Linked DNA regions of Homo sapiens: region 2 is linked to region 1. The links are contacts of gene promoters, found by promoter capture Hi-C in blood cells and fetal thymus (Javierre and others, 2016). All regions are on one chromosome and are shown on one strand. The core of a region is centred on a gene start or on the middle of the fragment in contact, and the rest is flanking DNA. Distances in the headings are between cores, read along the strand shown.

What was found. Contacts are between HindIII fragments. The CHiCAGO score rates a contact against its expected background, and 5 or more counts as called.
Region 2: a fragment that was not itself captured here is called in contact with the fragment with the promoter of SLC9A9-AS1 in region 1 in 2 of 17 cell types (M1 macrophages and M0 macrophages); the score reaches 5.3 in M1 macrophages.

Annotation. Positions count from the first base shown.
Region 1 is chr3:143,339,390-143,344,013 of GRCh38, reverse strand. It overlaps SLC9A9-AS1 (SLC9A9 antisense RNA 1), which reads right to left and starts at 1,768. Exons shown (of 4, transcript NR_048544.1): 1 at 1,730-1,768; 2 at 400-664. All of the region lies in intron 14 of SLC9A9 (solute carrier family 9 member A9), which reads left to right. The HindIII fragment of the contact is 6,948 bases long and covers 1-4,624 here.
Region 2 is chr3:143,523,424-143,527,945 of GRCh38, reverse strand. All of the region lies in intron 9 of SLC9A9 (solute carrier family 9 member A9), which reads left to right. Among named protein-coding and RNA genes, the nearest start is that of SLC9A9-AS1, 180 kb to the right of the region's middle. The HindIII fragment of the contact is 812 bases long and covers 1,834-2,645 here.

The DNA of each region.
Region 1 (4,624 bases), core at 519-3,018:
TCCTTTGTAAATAATATTTTATTTAAATAATTGCCAGCCCAAAAGATAGAATCATAATTATTCTGGGAGTTACATGGATTTGATAGGTAAACCACTATTTCAGCCATAACTTGCAAGCTGGTTAGACCATTGATCACTATACCTGGGTGTTAGTTTAGATAGAATATTGCTGAGGTAGTCAGCTCAGTACATTGTTGAGGTCTCAAGAGCACAAAGACTCCTTGTTGGGAAACTCCTGAGACCTAGAACCATGTTTCCAAGGCAGCAGTACTAGGTAAATATTCTAGGTGTATATTCTCTGTCATTTTTAATGTATGAATAGCAGACTAAAAGTGCTGCTTTTTATACCTAACCAGGAATCATCTTTGACACCATCTGAAGAATCAGTGGTAGACTCACCATCTTCAGAGTCCTTCAGCTTCCACTAGACCATTTAATTCATTTTGAGGGGACAAAATAGGGACTCCTGCAGTTTTCTCTCTGTAGTATTTTCTTGCTGAATCCAAGACCACATTAGGAAACCATGCCGTTGATTTTTTCGACTACTGCTTGTGGCAGTTCTTGCCTAGCTGTTGAAAGTTACTTTTTTTCCCCTCTTTACATCTTGGTAGAACATCTTATTCTGAAAATTGACTATCTCTCATCCTCCATTCCCACGCTTTGCCTAGAAAATGAAAAGATGTTTAAAAGAATGCCCTCCTGTTCTTGCCACTACAAAAAAATCAAAACATTTCCTGTCATACACTCACACACAATTAGTCTCCTTAACAATAAAGAGGAAAAGAAGTGGGAAAAAAATATCCATGACCTCTGTTGGTATTAAGTCTATAGGATACACTCAGCAGAGTCAAACCATCTAGCACAATCAAAACCATTATCTCCTCCTCTGGGTGTCTAAACTGCCCATATCAGTCATTTCAGTGAATAAAGAAATAAACAAACACTAGAAAATAGGATAGTTGTAGATTTGAGAAACAGTAAAAGTGTGGTGCTATGTATAGCAATGATATCACTTGTATTATTACAGTCATTTTTATATTACTAGCATTTGGGGATTATATCATCTAGCATTTGAGGTTGTTTTGACAATTTGTTCACATATAGATAAGAAAGAAGGAATGATCTTTTCAAAGAGAGATGCATGGTTAAAAGCGTGGCGCGTGTATATTTGCATGCACATGCACCTGCACCTGAGGTTGAACATGCACCAGATACACCATACCCCACCTGAGTGATTAAATAGATCACTCAATAGGAATTTTTCAGGTCATTTTCAGTTTTCTCAGTCTTTTGAAATAAGGTGATATTTTATGGTGCCCACAGTGGTTTGTGTCTACAAGCATTGCCTAATTTTAAAACCTTAAGTTAATCTTGACAAATCTGGCTATTGGAAGCTGTTTGGCCTTGAAGGTTATTTTATTTGTGAGTCCTGCTCTAGTTGCTACATAGATGGTGGCATTGGGTGGGGTGTTTAAAATCTAAGATAGTCCAATAAATAAACTGAAATACATCAGCAATAAGGTTTATAAGTGACCTCATGAGGAATCATCTAGCTTCTTAGATCAGGGTCTGCTGGTCATAAGGGTGGATCACTTGAGGTCAGCAGTTCAAGATCAGCCTGGCCAATATGGCAAAACCCTGTCTCTACTAAAAATACAAAAATTAGCTCGGTATGGTAGCACATGCCTTGTAATCCTAGCTACTTAGAAGGCTGAGGTAGGAGAATCACCTGAATCCAGGAAGCAGAGGTTGTAGTGAGCCAAGATGGTGCCACTGCACTCCAGCCTGGGTGACAGAGTTAGACACTGTCTCAAAAAAAAATAAGAAGCTCTAATGTTTGTTTCATTGAGAGATCCCTTCCTAAGGGACCCAACAAGCAGCTTCAATGATGGTCAGTAAAGTATGAACCTTATAACCATAGTTTCCACGTTTCCACCTTTGCCTCCTACTGAGGCGGCAGCAGAGCTGGGTCCTGACTGTGATGCGGTATTCCCATAACACAGCTCCACATCCAGAGGTAGTTTCACCCGGAATCAATGAAACTCAGCTTTCAGGGCTCTTCATCTGCATGGGTCCTTTGTAAGGGACCAGTGTTGATATTCAAAAGTGTGCATTCTTTTTATTAAGAATAGCCTCCAAAATTAGGTAACCTTCAGACTTCATGAAATCTGGATCTATCCCCGTCCATGTGAGTAAACACTACAGGGAAAATATGATAAATTAACGGTCTTATCATAATATTAAGTATTACAATAAATTATATGATTGTAAAAAATTTCAGTCCCTAGCACCTATATAACACTGTGTTCTGTATTTGCATATCGGAGTCATTTTGGTAAACAAAATTTTAATTTATTTGAACAGGGTTCGGGAAATCCTCAGGAAGTTTAACTTGCAATTTGGTATCTGAAGCTAATGTTATTCCTCTCCACATTTCTCCTCAAACATTTGGCACAGCTTTTCCTACCGTGGCAAGCAACTTGTCCCATTCTGAAAAGTGTGTTAAATTCACAGATACCCAATAATGATTATTGCAGGGTGTTCTCCAACACGTTTCATCCCTTGGTCTAAATTTACATTGTATGACTATGACCTGGGATGACTCTCTTGCCCTCCCTTGTAACTCAATACAGTTATGAATGGATGATTATTTTTATAAAATCCTACTCTGGAGTTCCCAAATTGACAGGCATTGGAGGCTCCCAAACCGACCCCATCTCAGGTATATATTCTCAAGACCAAAAGTTTATGAAAGCTAAGCCCCCTTAAGCCCCCACTACTCCAAAGGAACTGCAAAACAGCACATGAACAGTGAAAAAGATCCTAAAGAAATTCACCTCCCGATCACACCAAATTAATGCTATCCTGAGATACATCCAGCGAAAGGAATTCATCATATTCCACATAAGTGCCAAAAGACATTTGGACAGACTTTCAGCCTAAAGGATAGTGAGAGGGATAGTCTTAAAAATTTTAAAGATTTCTTTAGAACTTTCTTAGAATTAAGTGTCCTATTCAGCTTAATTGTTCTGCTACCAGCAAAAGTGATAAAGTTCAGGTGATCCTAAATGCAGAAAATATGTGGAAGTGAATAAAGCCTTCTGCACTAATGACTAGCAAATTTCAATAGATTTCCAATCTCTCTTTTTCACATTTCTTGTACCAACTCATTTATATTGTCATTCTAGAAAGAGCACATAAAAGGGTGTCTGGAGATAGATTTCTGGATGTTAAGAGAATCTTTAGTGAGTGGAGATAAGACCTGACCAGGAGACCTTTTATGAGTATATTCAGAAATGTAAACTGATGAATATGGTAAGGGCAAAAACTCAATATGATTGCATCTAAGATAGGATAAGGAGTTAATGCCCCTTTCCAAGAGAAATCTTGAAGACGGTACCAAAGTGAGCCCCAGGAAAGATCTGAACTGAAACCTCTCTAAGAGTCTCTTCAAAGCCTCCACTAGCTATAGAGTGGTTGCAATGGAGAATGATCTTGTTTTCCATTAAGAAATTCCAACTACTCATTAGTACCTGTTTTATTTTTCCCACTATAGCCTCCAGGCCTACCACTGTGCCTGGCACAAAGCAGGTGTTCTAATAAATGTCTAGTTAATGTTGAATCAGCAGGTAATCAAAATAGTCCTTCAGTTAAATGATAGTAAAATCCCGAATGTATTCCTGTGAGAGACTTGCCTTATTTCAGGCTGGTGTTGAGCATTGTCTTTTGACCTCTGCCTACTGTTTTATTTATTTATTTATTTGCTTTTCCTTTAACTTCTGTGGTCTGGTGAGGTTGTGCACAGAATCTGGAACCTAAGACTGTATTAGGCCAGTCAGTCATGAAATTATAGTTTGTTGGCTGACAACAAAGCACAGGGTGCTCAGGAGATGAAGCGTGGTATAATAGTACTGAGGGCTTCTAACATCAGTTTAATCAACCGTGATTCCAAGTCACTTATTATTGTGTTTACAATGTCACGATGCAAAAAGTTCTCGTGTTGTGTTCTCAGTGCTTTTGAGATTTCTCCTATGCATTAGTCTTTGACTTGGTTGCTTTTTTTATGTCAGTTAATACCTTTTGGAAGCCATAATTGTACATAGCACACCCCATCATTCGGGCAGTAGCATCCTTTTACAGAAGGAGTTGTCACTCCCAGAGTTGTATTAATAATTATTTTGAAAAACAGTGAATTGAGCAACAGTTGTTAACATGAACCTAATGATCAGAACTGAATACAACCAAGCTCAGCTTTGGAACAGGAAAAGAAACTATCAGAGTAGACGTGATTATTGAGTATTCCAGAGTATAGCTCTCAACAGTCTGCTCTTTTAGTCATTAACTATTGTTCACCAGCTACTGCAACATTTTTAAATGATGTGGCAATACAATGTGACGGGAAGCCTTAAGAACATCAGGGAAAAGAATCTGAAGAGTAATTTATTTATGTTAAGGAACAACATAGTATGCCAGTGTAGAAGGGGGGGAATGTAACATAAAGAAGATAGCAGGGAAAAGGAATGCTATCTACTGCATAAGAAATGAGCAGCCTGGGATTCAAGCAGAGAAAATCCTCAACCAAGGCTTGAGCTGGGTAGGTAAGCAAGAGAGCCGGAAGCTGCAT
Region 2 (4,522 bases), core at 990-3,489, 180 kb before region 1:
GCCTAGCCTGGTGACAATGCCTCTCACCTTGTTCCAAGTGCACACTACCCAGTTCTTGACATCAAGTGCCATGCTCTGTCCTACTAATCCTGCCCCTTACCTCTACCTGGACCACTGCTTCCTGCAAAGCAGTCTTCTCTGTGGTCCTCATAGCCCTTTGGTTGTGCCCCACTGCTGAGGCACTGAGGGAAGAAGGGTTAAACATTGGGAGGGATGTGGACCTATTGCTAAGTCTTGAAGAGTCTTGAGTCTTGAATGTGGTGCTAAGCAGTTTGGCTTTCCTTCGGTAGACAGGAAGGAACCAACCAAGATTTACAAGCAATGGCATGAGCACATCTGTGTTTTAGAAAGATAAAATATAAGATGGACTGAAGCAGGGAATCTATAGGAATATCTTCATTGTATGAGACCTGACAAATTTTGACACAATGCCACTAAGCACATACTATGTGGCACAAAGACAACTAGTCAAGTAAGTGAAAAAACAAACTCAACCTAATGAAGTTCCTTCAACCTTGTGCTACTGTTATCTAATTTTTACTCTCCTGAACCATTAGAAAATTCTAATAATAAAAAACACAAGTTGTCAAGTTTTGTCACGTGTCAATAAAACACTTTAACCATATTAGAGGTACTGTGCTTCAATATGACTGATGTGTTCAGTTAAAATGCTGAAGTTTATGAATCTTACCGTAAAGCTTGAAGAAGAACAGTGGAGATACATTACATGCTATCTGTGAAAAATGGTAAAAATAAAAAGCTAAAATGAAAATATTGAATCTTTGAGAGAGAAATGCAGGCACCGAAATGTGCTATCATCTCATCACTATTCTCTATAGGCTTGTGGATTAGACAAGTCGTATATGTCTAAAACTGCATAGAGGGTGTTTCAGAACTAGAGATGTAAAAAACTTACTTTAAAATAAGAATAGAGCTCTCCAGTAAACCTAATCATTCTCACAGGGCAGATCGGCTTTAAACGAATGTCACACTTATCTATATATAGTCCACAGTTCCCCAGGGGTGCCCAAGCCCCTTACCCCACAAGAAGCTTGATATATATTTCAACACACAGAATAACATATACTTTGCCCTAAGACTTCCTTTTATGCTTGCTAACTTCAGGATCCTCACAATGGCTGCAAACTCCTAATATTTCAAAGACTGTCTACATTAATATCTTTCAAAGCCTCAAACCCTGGCAAGGAACAAAAATTGTTTTTGAATCGGCTTCAAGAATTAATATTAGAGAATAGGAGGTTTTTCCTCTCAGCAAATTGAAGTTGAATAAATTGTTCTCTGTCTCCTTAAAATGGAATTGGTTGCTCGAGGTGAGCTCTGCTGTGAGGAGGCAGGATGCAGCAGCACTGTGAAGGATGATGGCAGGGACAATTTGGGGGACAGGAGGGGGCCTTTCTTCTCTTAAATTAGGGGCAGGTCTGTTTCTTTAAACCTGGCATAGATGCTAAAATGTAGGAAGTAAGTATATTAGCTTGGAGTTGCATTAAAAATAGCTGGAATTGCTGGGCTATTACCACCTCTTTTCTTGTGTTACCAAATGCCCACAGAGCAGCCTGCCCCTAAGCATTCCTGGGCAGCCATTCATGTCCTCATGGCTGTGACACACATGAATTGAAACTTCCATGTGCAGAGACGCAGATGGCTCCCTTCTTTGGAAGGAGAAAACAAACCCTCCAGACTTCCTTTTGGTGCTTCTAGGCATCTGCTTTGCCCACTATCTTCCCCAAACAAGAAGATGTGACTGTGGTTTGAGGGTTTAGCTTCCCCTGTGGATTTAAAAGACCTAGACATCACAGCCACTGGCCAAAAGCTTTCAATGATGGCTTTGATTTAGTTATATCTTTCTGTTTATAAAAATGACTTTACTGCATAGTATATTCATAGATGTAAAACAGAGTAATAAGACTCAAGGACAATTCTGTTGCCTAAAGGCAACCACTGTAACTGCTAATATTTTGACATTTTTTTCCTTCCAGTCTTTTGTAGCTATTTCATTTATCAAGAATAAACTGTATATGTACAATTTTGTATCCTGCACTGTCTGCTTGACAGTTATAACTAAGAATTTCCCCATTAATTTTAATTTCTCTTTTTTCTTTTGTCATTATTGGTCAAATAAATGTAACTAGATATCATTTACTTTTCTTCTCTCACAGCCTGTGGATTTTGATTATTTCATTCTTTCCTGTTTACGCATACATTTAAATCAGATTCCACAAAAACTCACTGACATTATCTAAGTGAAGGGGCATGTTTGAAAGGGACAACATGTTCCTTGGTACTCACAGACTCAGAAATATGCTGCAAGGTTGTGATGACATTTGAATGCTATTTCCAGAGTAAATGATGAAATACTTCCCCAGGAGACACATGGAGCGAAGGGCAGCTTGTGGGATGATTGGGAAGATGAGACTCATATGCTACCTCCACTTTCTAGAGAAAGTATCAGTCACTAGGCTGACAGAGCCAGATTAGAGTCTACACTTGCCACTTAGTTGCTGTGTGATCTTGAATATGTCACTTAACTTTCCTAAGCCACAGAGGCTTCATCTACAAAATGGATCAGATAGAATCTACCTCACACAGGGATATCATTTGGCATATAATCAATGCTTACAGAAGCTTTGTCCTCACTGTTCACAATGAGGTCTTTTCATAGTTGATCTGTATTAATTTAAATGATAATTTATTTTAAAAAGAGAAATAACATTTAACATAAGTCTAAAAAAGATAAGAACTAGTTCTTAAATTAACTTCATCCTCCTTTGGTTAGCATTTTTTACATAGGTAACCCATATTTTGCCTAGGCTCGCTATTTCTTTTGACATCTATATAGCATTCAATATGTTTTGTTCATTGTCTTAGTCTATTTTTCATTGCAATAACAGAATACTTGAGACTGAATAATTTATAAGGGAAAGACTTTTTTAGCTCATGATTCTAGAGGCTGGGAGGGCCAAGATCAGGCAGTCATCTTTGGCTAGCTTCTGATGTGGGCTTCATGCTATGGCATCGTAACATGGCAGAAAAGCAGAAGGAGAAATAGACATGTACAAAGAAGCAAAACAGGAGAGGCAGGCTCACTTTATTACAACGTATTCTCATGAGAACTAACCCAATCTTGAAAAATAGACATTAATCCATTTTAATCACTTCGTAAAGTCACTACCTTTCAACACTGTCTCACTGGGAACCAAGTCTCAACATAAGTTTTAGTGGGGACAAACCATATTCAAATCATAGCTTCATCTTGATAGAGATGTATACTCTTAAGAAATCTAACTAAACAAATTAGTCATAATGATAGGGGCTCTGGAAAGTCTGAATGATTTAGTGTAGATTAAATTATAGGGCCTTATTTCAAAAAAATATGCATAAGCTGATTTTAGTACTGTCAAACATTTTCAAAATGGCCATTGACCTATAAAAAAGAAAATGTAGTCACGGCACGATCTTCTCTGTTTATTAAAGCTGATCTGTTTCTCTCTCTGCATATTCTCTATTCTCATCTCTCCCTGGCCATATTCACTGACCATCTTGCCCTCAGCTTGACAGAGACAACTGAGGCCATCAGTTGGATAAGAAGTCTATTAATCTTGATCTCCCATCTCAGTTCAGCCTCTATCCCTCTCCTCTTCTATCTCAGCAGGGTCTTGGATCTCAGTGAGTTGGGTCATCCTTTCCATCCCCCACCCCCATATTTGTTTCTTCAGGCTGTTAGATCTCTCTTAGTTTTTTTTTTTTCTATCTTCAGTGTAGCATTTTTCATTGTAGATAATAGGAGCATTCTTCAAAACCCCTCTCTTCACTTGGTTTCTCTGAAACACCCAGCCCTTTCTTGATCTTCCTTCTACATTCTGGTCTTCCTTTCTCAGTCTTCTATCTGACCTGCTAAGGCATTAAAGTCTACATTCAGAAAGGACCACAGAATCCTGTTCTTTCAGCATGTCAGAAAATAACAGTACCATTAGATATCATTGTTTGACTTAGGTGGAAGAGACATTTATATTCAAATCTTTCTTCGTTTTATATAGCTTATATGGCGGAATTAAAAATAAATATATTTACCATCAGTATTTTATTACATTTTTATTGCTTACTTACCTTAGGTATAGAGAATATTCACAATGTTGTCATGATTTATTGTCTTCCAACAATTATTAATTGGGAATCCCTATGGGCTGGACATTAAGAGGATTATGGAAAAATATAATGATAATGATTACCCTTCATCGATCCTTTCATGTTTGCCAGAAAGGGAAGTATATAACAAGTTTGCACAGTAGGTATTAAATTCTCCAATTTTACATAAAATGACGTTGGGACTTCAAGTTCACAAGTTCACACAGCATGCAACCGAAGAGCTGGGATTCACGCTGTGTCTTCCCACCTCAACACTTTCTTTATATGACTTAACACTAAGTATAAGAGATCTTAACAGGTACAAGTTATGAGGAGGAGTGATTACTATGATTAGCTTGGAGTTTTGATAAAACTAATT